Regions from separate parts of the Homo sapiens genome. Here region 1 is linked to region 2. Evidence: promoter capture Hi-C in 16 types of primary human blood cells and fetal thymus (Javierre and others, 2016). All regions are on one chromosome and are shown on one strand. Each heading gives the region's core, a stretch centred on a gene start or on the middle of the fragment in contact. The rest is flanking DNA. Distances are from core to core; before and after follow the strand shown.

What was found. Contacts are between HindIII fragments. The CHiCAGO score rates a contact against its expected background, and 5 or more counts as called.
Region 1: a fragment that was not itself captured here is called in contact with the fragment with the promoter of GUCY2D in region 2 in 11 of 17 cell types (activated CD4 T cells, total CD8 T cells, erythroblasts and 8 more); the score reaches 11.1 in activated CD4 T cells.

What each region holds. Positions count from the first base shown.
Region 1 is chr17:7,779,744-7,784,913 of GRCh38, reverse strand. DNAH2 (dynein axonemal heavy chain 2) reads right to left here. Exons shown (of 86, transcript NM_020877.5): 37 at 4,630-4,757; 38 at 4,132-4,284; 39 at 3,747-3,872. Among named protein-coding and RNA genes, the nearest start is that of KDM6B, 52 kb to the left of the region's middle. The HindIII fragment of the contact is 1,534 bases long and covers 962-2,495 here.
Region 2 is chr17:8,000,960-8,005,968 of GRCh38, reverse strand. GUCY2D (guanylate cyclase 2D, retinal) reads right to left here and starts at 3,354. Exons shown (of 20, transcript NM_000180.4): 1 at 3,235-3,354; 2 at 2,201-2,930; 3 at 1,813-2,117. The coding sequence starts at 2,921. The HindIII fragment of the contact is 12,410 bases long and covers 646-5,009 here.

The DNA of each region.
Region 1 (5,170 bases), core at 479-2,978, 220 kb after region 2:
GGCTGTGGATTTATGTGTTTCTCCTTATGGTTCTGTCCAGTTTCTTTTATGGATTTTGTAGCTATATTATTTAGTGCATACAGATTTAGAACTCTTATAACTTTCTGTGTATTGATCCTTTTATCATTATGAAATGTCACTCTTCACCTTTACGATTGCTTCTTGCCATAAAGTCTGCTTTGCCTGATAGCAGTAGAGTTATCACTGTGATCAGAAACTGTGGTCTGAATATCTTCCTTTGACATTTTTGAGGCAAATTTATGGCCTTTACATAGTCATCAATTTTCCTTTTCCTACATGGTCCAACAATTTTCTATGTGTGCTTGAAAAATATGGTTATGCTTCAATTATTTATTTTATTTTATTGAGTTGAGTTGAGGTCTCACTCTGTCACCCAGGCTGGAGTGCAGTGGTACAGTCATGGCTCAATGCAGCCTTGAAGTCCTGACCTCAGGTAATCCTCCCACCTTGGCCTCCCAAAGTCCTGGGGCTACAGGCATGAGCCAACATGCCTGGCCGATTCTCCAATTATTGAGTCCAGTTTCTATAGATATCCATTAAATCATGATTGTTGATTGTGTTCTTCAAATCTTCTATATCCTGATTTTTAGTCTGTTTGCTCTATCAATTAAGAAATATTAAGCTCTCCACTATGATACTAGATTTGTCTCTTTCTCCTTGTAATTGTGCAAAATTTGCTCTACTTATTTTGAGACTATATTATTAGATGCACAAAAATCTAGAATTGTTATACCTTCCTGATGAGTTGAAACTTTTATTATTATGAAATAGCCCTCTATTTCTAGCAATGCTTTTTAGCTCAAAATCTGTTGTCCCATATTGCTACCCTAGCTTTCTTTTGATTCGTATTTACTAAAACTAATTATTTACTAATAATTATCAAATAATAGAAAAAACATCATTTTCTATTCTTTGACTTTCAGCCCTTTGTCATTAAGCTTTAGATGGGTCTCTTGTAAACATTATAAAGTATCAGTATAACAATGTATGGTTACTTTTCCTTTCTTGGGCAACTTTTTTTGTTTTCCCTAGGATCTAATAGTTTTTGTGATTTTTGTTTGCTTAGGTTCTGTTTTTTGTTTTTTTTTTTTTGGAAACAGGGTCTCACTCTGTCACCCAGGCTGGAGTGGCACAATCTCACAATCTCAGCCACTGCAATCTCCACCTCCTGGGCTCAAACAATCCTCCTGCCTCAGCCCTCCCAATAGCTGAGACTACAAGCATGAGCCATTACACCTGGCTCATTTTCACCATGTTGCCCACGCTGGTCTCAAACTCCTCACCTCAAGCAATCCACCTGCTTATGCCTCCCAAAGTGCTAGGATTACAGGTGTGAGCCATCATGTCCAGCCTGTTTGCTTAGGGTTTTGTTTTTGTTTTTGTTTTTGTTTTGCCCCCATGTTTGCTTAGTTTTTAATGTGCTTATCTCTAACTCAATTCCAAACTCTACCAGTTGACTAAATCTTTCAAACAATTTTCACATCGGGTATCAATTTCTTCTTTAAAAAGTCATCCTGGCCCGGCGCAGTGGCTCATGCCTGTAATTCCAGCACTTTGGGAGGCTGAGGCAGGCGGATCACCTGAGGTCGGGAGTTCGAGACCAGCCTGACCAACATGGAGAAACCCCGTCTCTACCAAAAATACAAAATTAGCTGGGTGTGGTGGTGCATGCCTGTAATCCTAGCTACTCGGGAGGCTGAGGCAGGAGAATCGCTTGAACCTGGGAGGCGGAGGTTGCGGTGAGCCAAGATTGTGCCATTGCACTCCAGCCTGGGCAACAAGAGTGAAACTCCATCTCAAAAAAACAAAACAAAACAAAACAAAAAAACAGTCCTCCTGAAGACTTCAGGTTTGCTCCAGTCTGGATTGGCTTCTCTCTTTGCCCAGTGCACCACCATCATCCTGTGACCTCCATTCACCAACACCCCGAGGATTACTGTAGCCTCCCCCTTGCACCAAATCTTTTGTTTCCCATCGTCCTTTTCACGATGTGTTCCTGTGTTTAAGTAGAGCACGTTTTTCTAGTAGCTTTTGGAGAAAGTAGTTGTGACTACAGGAGCACACCTCCATGTGTGGCTATTTTTTTTTTTAAGAGATGGAGGTCTTGCTATGTTACCCAGGCTGGTCTTGAACTCCTAGCCTAAAGTGATCCTGTTGCCTCAGCCTCCAAAGTGTTGAGATGACAGGCGTGAACCACCGCACCTCGCCCCTATCAGTTTCAATATCTGAAGTAAGTTTTCATGGATCTGATTCCACTGTCTGTTGTTCTTCTGGCTCCCATTCATGGTTTCTTGTTTCCTTGTGTGTTTTGTGATTTTTGACCATGAGTTGCTCATTTTCTTGGACTTTTACCTGTGGCACTTCTTTGAAGTGTGAGTTGAAATTTCATTCCTCCAGAAATAATTTGCTTTTGCTTCTTCCAGTCACCTGGGGGCACTAACAACCTAGAACTACTTAATATTGAAATCTAAGCTTGAGATTTCTTTTCTGATTACACAGTAGGATAAATGATGACTGGAAACCATGTGAGAGCTGGTGTGTGGTTAGGAAATCTCAAAGAAAATTTGGTCTTTTTCTTCCATCATCAGAGGTCAAAACAAGCAAGTTTCTTTCCTGTATATACGCTTCTAAATCTCAGACTTCTCGTTTTTCCATCTACTGGGGATGTTGCCCCTTGGGGACTGGGGTTTATGCAGCACTGCATCTTCTGTTATATCTTCAGACTTGGGTTGTTTCATCTCCTATCCTCACTGCCTTAAGATCAACAACAGTTTTCAGGGAGAAGGCCAGCTTTGGTACTTACCTGCCTCCCAGGGTTCCTGCTTTTACTCCCTACCCTCCTCAACTCCTGGAATTCTTCCTTTCTTGCCAGCTTAGCAATGCATTAAAAAGGATGTTATTATTATATTTTTATCCATCATTTTAGTAGTTTCAATTGAAAGGATCATTCAGGGTATCTAGACTACCACACTGCCAGAGAAGAAAGTTCTTATGCTTTCTAAAACTCCCTCTTCCATTCTGCTGCTCTCTGATACCAAATGGCTTCTAGCAGCCCCTCCTCAAAACTCCCTGATGAGGTGAGAAGTAGAGGCATGGAGGACTGATGGGCACGGAGAAAGTGCAAAGGCAACGGACTAGAGGTTTCAATGAAGTCAGAGCGTTGCTGCATGGATGCACTTGAGCAGGTACACTTGAGTAGGTCAGCGGAGGAGGGAGTTGTGGTCAGAGAGCAGAATGTTTGAATAGTCTATTGCTTTATAGATAAGGAAGTCCAAAGAGAGGTCAATTGACTTGTTCAGAGTCATAGCTAGTAGATGGCAGAACAAGGACTGGAAGCCAAGTTTTCTATTCCCAGATGCATATTCACATATGTGGTCAGGGAGAGTGCGGTTTTTTTGTTTTTGTTTTGTTTTTTGAGACACGGTCTTGCTCTGTCACCCAGGCTGGAGTGCAGAGGCACAATCTCAGCTCATTATAGCCTCAATCTCCTGGGGCTCAAGCAATCCTCCTACCTCAGCCTCCCGAGTAGCTGGGACTACACTCGTGTGCACCACCATGCCTGGCTAATTTTTGTACTTTTTGTAGATACAGGGTTTCACCATGTTGCCCAGGCTAGTCTCAAACTCCTGGACTCAAACAGTCTGCCCACCTCGGCCTCCCAAAGTGCTGGGATTACAACCATGAGCCACAGCACCCGGTCAGGGAGAGTATTAAGGAACAAATACCTTGCCATAGTCAATGACAGGCAGCTCAATGTTGGGAAACAGATCTTGCACGATGGCATTGAACAGGGGTGCATCAACTGAAGTGAGCTTGGCGATGTTCATATCTCTCATTGAGAGCAGCAGAACCTGAATGGGAAAAGACAGAGACTCAGGCTTGAGGAGGCAGGGCCTAGGCCTTTCACCTCCAAAGGGCTTCGGGGCACGTGCCAAGAACAATGGATACACCAGTTAGCCATTAGCAAAGCAGCGGGCAACACGGGGATGGGACGAGGTGGGAAGGTGAGAATCCCAATCTGAGGAAAGAAAGGGTCTGAAAGACTTGAGAGAAGTGACATAGGTCCAGTGACAGTGGAAGTCAGGTCCAAAGGCTGTGTCCTTGCTCTACCTCTTCATCAGTCAGATCCGGCTGTAGGCGGCGCTTCTTGCCAGCATAGCGCAGAAGGGAGGTGAGGGCACGCAGGCCAAAGTCATAGTGGTCCTGTCTGGACAGCTGCTGCACAGCCAGTGAGTAGAGTGTGTACACCTTCTTGGCCAGAATCTGGGGAACCAAAACAGAGGAGGAAACAGTCCATCTCCCCACAAATCCCTCTGCTTCATCTCAGGACAGTCAGAGACAAGAAGCCAGGTCCCAGGACATGAAGCAGCTAGGAGGCACTCTATGGATTCTCCTGAGGAAATTGTGTGAATGACGCCATTGTCAGTTAGTGATATCACGGAGGAGACACCTCCCTCCCCTAAATTTTTCTCCCCACACATCCTACTGACAATAGTCTAAGTTCCTTAGAGGATAAGCTGATTGTGAGGCCCTTGGGGAGCTCCTCTGTCCAGGGAATAATTATGAAAGGAAATTAAAATCACTGGAGAAAAGGGGTTATTGGAGTACCTTGCAGTTGCCAAAGCCCTCTCCAAAGAGAATGATTTCTGCAATGAGGGTGGAGTCAGGCACCACCATGGCAATTGGGCGGAACATGGATTTAAGATTTTCGGGAAGCTCTGTGCGGCCAGCATAGCCTGGAAAACAATGCCACTTGCTTAGAATCATATATTTCCTCATCTTGATTTGCTTCCCCAAACCCACTTTCCAATCAGTCTCATTTTCTCCCACCCTAACTCCATCCCTAACTTTCTCTCCAACTCCAAGACCACATCCTTTCTCATCTCAGCCCCAGCCCTTCCCAGTCCACTTTGGTCTTCTCTCTTATCTCTGGTCCTTTCCTTACTTTCTGCATGGCCTTGTTTCAAACTCAAATCACAGAGCTGTCAATTTCCCATCTCTCCAGGTTCTGTGTGTATAGCTCTCATCAGTCCTAATAGAAATCACAGCTGTTCCTCTTTGTTCAGTTCCTAAACCCTTTCCTATCCCTGTGCTGTCCTAGACCCTTCCCCCAGAGTTGTTCCTAGGAAACAGTAATGAGAGACCCTAG
Region 2 (5,009 bases), core at 2,105-4,604:
TAAAAGCCTTCTCACCTATCTTTTGGTTGGCTTCTATTTTCTGTTGTTCCTTAAAAAAACAAACAAACAAACAAAAAAACTAAACAAAAAACAAACAAAAAACCTTCTCTATTGTTACCACCCGATCTTATCAGGCTTCTCTATTATTCCCAGTTGCCATCTCTCAGAGAGCCAGGCACTGTGCAGAGCACTAAAGATGTATCAGTGTACAAGACAGACCCCGTCTCAAGGAACCTTTCTTCTTGCCAAAGAGACAGGGGTGTTCAGGCAGTGCAATGAGTAAAAGTAGGGGAAACTGAGGGAGCTGCAGAGACAGGAATGGGTGTCCCCACCCTAGGCTGTGGACAGAGAAGGAGCTGTTAGAAGTGACCATCCTTCAGGGGATGAGTCAGAATTATCCAGGGGAGGCAGGGACAAGAGAGAGGAAACAGCACACTCAGAAGCTCAGAGGCAAAAGAGAAGGACACATTCCAAGAACCCAGAGTAGCTTGGTCTGGCTGAAGTTCATGGGAGGTGGAAGAGAGAGAAAGACAGGTGACCTGGTAAGCCATGTGGAGAGGCCTGCATCTATCCAGGGCAACAGAAGCCACTGTGAGGCTTTGAACAGGGGCATGACAGGGTGAGATCTGTCAGATTTCTGAAGCTTGATCTGGAGAAAGGTGTTGGGCAGGTGAGTGTTGAAGCAGAGACCATCTGAGAGATTATGTTTTGGGATTTGGGCTGGGGGTGCTGTGGCCTGAATCAGGGCAGTGACAGTAAAGATGGAGAAAGCGGATGAATTCGAATGATCTTTAGGAAGTAACAGTAACAGGGCTTGATGCCTGGAAGTGGGGGCGAAGAATTCAAGGAATCAAGGGTGACTCACACGCTCAGAGGCTTGCGCAGTTTGGGCAGTGGAGAGGACTGCTGTGGTACTTACTGAGAGCTGAAGGGCTTTTCTCTCTCTACTTTCTCAACCTCCCTCTCTCCACTGACCGACCCTCCCTCCATCCCATCTCATTATGATTCCTATCTTGTATTCTCTTCTGACTATTCCCATCACTGCACCCCTCCCCCCTCCATTGGACACCTCCAATCCTCTTGGAAGAATCTAGGGGCATCGATGGGAAATTGCAACCCCTACGACCCTTCTCTCATGCAGCCGCCTGTGAGTTGGACCTTTGTGGTGGTTAATTCACTGCCCGTTGACATCTAAATTCCCTTCTCATAGTGGTTTCTAGTCCCCCTTTGTGGCGGGAGTAAAGTTAGATGATCTGAACTGGGATTCTGGGGACTTGGGGATCCCTAGGTATTAGCTGGATGTTGGAAATACACTATGGATCTGGTTAGGATTGCCCCTGAATCCACCCAGGGAACTTTCTGCTTCTTGCAAGGTGTCTAGGCCCTTGAAAAGCTAAGACCACCAGATGAGGCCCCAGAGGAAATACCTCTGAACTAGGGATGAAGGTTGGATTGGCATCCTCCCTCCTTCCTGCTTTCAAGAACACCAAGTATTTATTTTAGACAGCTGGGAGTATGTGGTGGTGGAAACGGGTTTACTTTGAAGCCAATTGCAAAAGGTTTTGCAGTTTACAGTTCATTAGAGTTTACTGCTTGATGTTGGACTTGAGAGGTCGAATTGCCTACTCTCTAGAGGCAATCCTCGTACACTAAGAGACCCCAAGTGGGGCCAGAGCCTCTACATTACCCAGGAAACTCCAAACAGCTAGAGCTGCCAGTGGTTCTTTCTCCATTGGCTGCATCCTCCTCTCCCTGCTTTGGCTGTCCTCTCCCCTCTCCCTTGCCTTCTTCCCTCCTCCCGGGACCGTCTACCTGCTGCAGATTGAGGTCAGAGGGCAGCTCGCGGCGCTCTTGAGCCCTGCGCAGGCTGTCCAGCACGCTGCCTTCAGAGGGACAGTGGCGCGTGAGGGTGAGCACGGCATCGTGGGCCCTGCGAAGCTGGGAGCTGTTGGCGAGTGCGGCCAAGGCCTCCGGGCCTGGGGACAAGGCGTAGTGGATCGTGTCGAAGGGCAGGAAGACCAGGGAGCCATCGGTCAGGCCCAGCTCCTCTGCGGCCTCCAGGAGGTAGCGCTGCTCCTCGCCACCCAGCAGCACCGAGTGCATCACCATGATCACTGCTGCGGACAGAGGCTTGGCTCGCGGCGCCGTCCGGCTGCCGGCAGGACCAGCCGACCTCCTCGCACCCTGCAAGGGAGCCTACCTGTGACCCTGGGCCCGTCCCGAACCTTCCTCAGGGCCTCCCGGGCTCCAGACAGGTCCAAGGGCTCCATGGAAGTCACGGAGGCGACAGGCAGGCCCCGGGCCCTGAGTGCCGTGGACAGTGAGCGTCCCGCCTCCACCCACAGGTCCTGGGGGGCGGTGACCAGGGCCACGCGCGCCCAGCCGAATGCGCGAAGCAGGGCGTAGAGGGCATCCGCGGCGGGGGTCACGGCAGGGGCCGTGGTGCCCTCCGCCTGCGTCCAGGGGCAGCCCCAGGGCACCAGCGCGATCCCGGCTTCTTCGGCGAGCAGCTCGGCTGGCCGGCAGGCCGCAGGGTTCACCGGACCCACGAGGCCCGACACGCGGGCCAGCGCGGAGGACACGGCCCCCAGCGAGCCCGGCGTCCGGCAAGGCTCGGGCAGCAGCGCTACCTCGAAGCGGGGACCGCCTGCCAGGCCGGGGTCGCGGTTCAGGCGGGCGGCGGCCAGGCGGGCGGCCAGGTCCGGGCGAGCCCGAGAGAAGATGGGGTCGCAAGCCCAGGGGCCCAGGACCCCCACCGTGAACACGGCGGAGAGGGCGGGGGGCTGCAGCAGAAGCAGGAGCAGCAGGAGCGGGAGCCGGGGCAGGGCCCGGGGGAGGCGGGGCAGGGACGGAGCCCACCACGCGGGACCGCAGAGCCCGGGGTCCGGAAGCCCACCCGCTCGGCGGGCGCAGGCGGTCATTGCCGGCTTCTGCGAACACAGACGGAGCAGGCTGAGCGACTGAGACCCCGGCCTCCCCTAGGGTTCTCCCCGTAACCCCGAGTTTCTCCAAGCCCGAGTAACCCATGGGATGATTCTGCTGCTACCGCCCCCTCCGGAGGCTGGGAAGACTAACTGGGGCCAAGGACACCGCCCCGAAGCCCCCTTCTGCCGCCCCGGCTTCCCGCTCCCACCCGGCCTGCCCCTCCCCCCGTCGGAGGCGTCAGGGGTCAGCAGGGACTCGCCTGCGCCCTCAGACCGACCCTATCCCAGCGGAGGGGCCTCTGACATTTACAGGGAAGTCCGGGGGCTCGGGCCCACGGCCCCCGGTGAGGGGTCACAGGGCCGGTCCCCCTTTTGACGCCCGCCCACAGGTCTTCCTTGCCAGCCCAGGCCAGGGCGGGGGCGTGGGTACAGCCGGCCAGAGCCCTTAATCTCCCCAAGCTGATTAGGGTCCTTAATTAGGTAGGGAGGGGCGGGCTAGTGGAGGATGAGAGCCCCTACTGCGCCTTTCTGGGGTGGGATCTGTCCTGGCTTCCAGGTAGTCAGCCAGATCCTTTCCCCTCCATGCCTTCCAGCCCCCCACATCACCCTCATCACCACCACCCCTGCACAAAAGCAGCCGCAGCTTCCCCTTTCAGCCGTCGGCCACACTGCCCTGCTCAGCCAGAAAGTAACAAGTGCCTGCCCGTGGACAGCTGTGGGTAATCCGTCCTGGAGAAGAAACACTGATCCCAGTCCCTTTCCTTACAATCTTCTGTTTCCAGTTCTGCCAGCTAAGTTCAAGCTCCATCCTTTGGCTGGCAAAGTCTATATCCCAGAGACCAAACCCACACCAAGCTGACACCTGCCTTTCTTCTTTCACTTCTCTTCTCTCTCTCGCCACACTTGATTCCCTGACCTCTGCTTCTCCATGCCTAGAAAACCACCCTCAGGAAGTAATGAAAAGAGCTTTGGCCTCCGACAGACCTGGGTTCCAAGTCCCTCTTGCTGATTTTTGGACCTTGGGCAATTGCTTAATCTGAGGGTTGTTGTGAAAATGAATATAATTGCCCGGATGGCAAGAATAGCTAACAATTTTAGAGAAGAGTATAATGGAAGATGCCCTATAAGATATACAAATTTATTATAAAGCAATAGCAATTATGTATTTATGTAAATATATAATATATAAAACATAGCAATTATATATCTACATAAATATATAATATATAAAACATAGCAATTATATATTTATATAATTATATGATATATAAAACAGCAATTATATAAATATATACTATAAAGCTATAGCAATTATATATTATATATTTATATAAATCCACATTATGTAGTGACAGCAATTATATATTTATATAAATATATATTATAAAGCTATGGCAATAAAGACTTCATAGTTTTGGCACAAGGATAAACAAATGGACCAATGAAATAGAATATACAGTACTGAAACAAACACAGCAAATGTGTGAAGACGTGGACATTTCTTACCAACTGGGAAAGAATAAACTTCAACAAATGGAGCTGATTAGCCATCTGGGGGGAAAATAGAATTCAATCCCTATCTCACACCATACACAAAATCTATTCCAGGTCAAAGACCTATATGTGAAAAATAAAACTTAAAAACTTTTAAATGAATCATTTTCAGACTTGGTGGCAAAGATTGGATCAGGTAAGAATCATCAGTGGATTCTAAAGCTGGGGGAAATGTTGGATGAGGAGCAGAACTTTTGCAGGGTCTGAAAGTATCTCCCTCCAGATTGCCATGAGTTGGAAGGGAGTGGGGAATAAAATAAAAAGCAGTCATTGTACAGTGGAGAAATGGGGCAATACTTTAAGCAAGTGATCAAAATTAACCATGAGGGGCAGAGAGACATTCTTTGCCTCCAGATGTGATACCCTGAGAAGGACATAATACTACACCTATGCAGTGCTGCACAATACGTCTCGGCAATGTTCCAGCATTATTTCAAATCTAATCACAAGGAAACATAAGATAAACACTAAATGAGAAACGTTCTATTTAAAAAGGTGGGGAGGACTGCATTCTTCAAAAATGTCAATGTC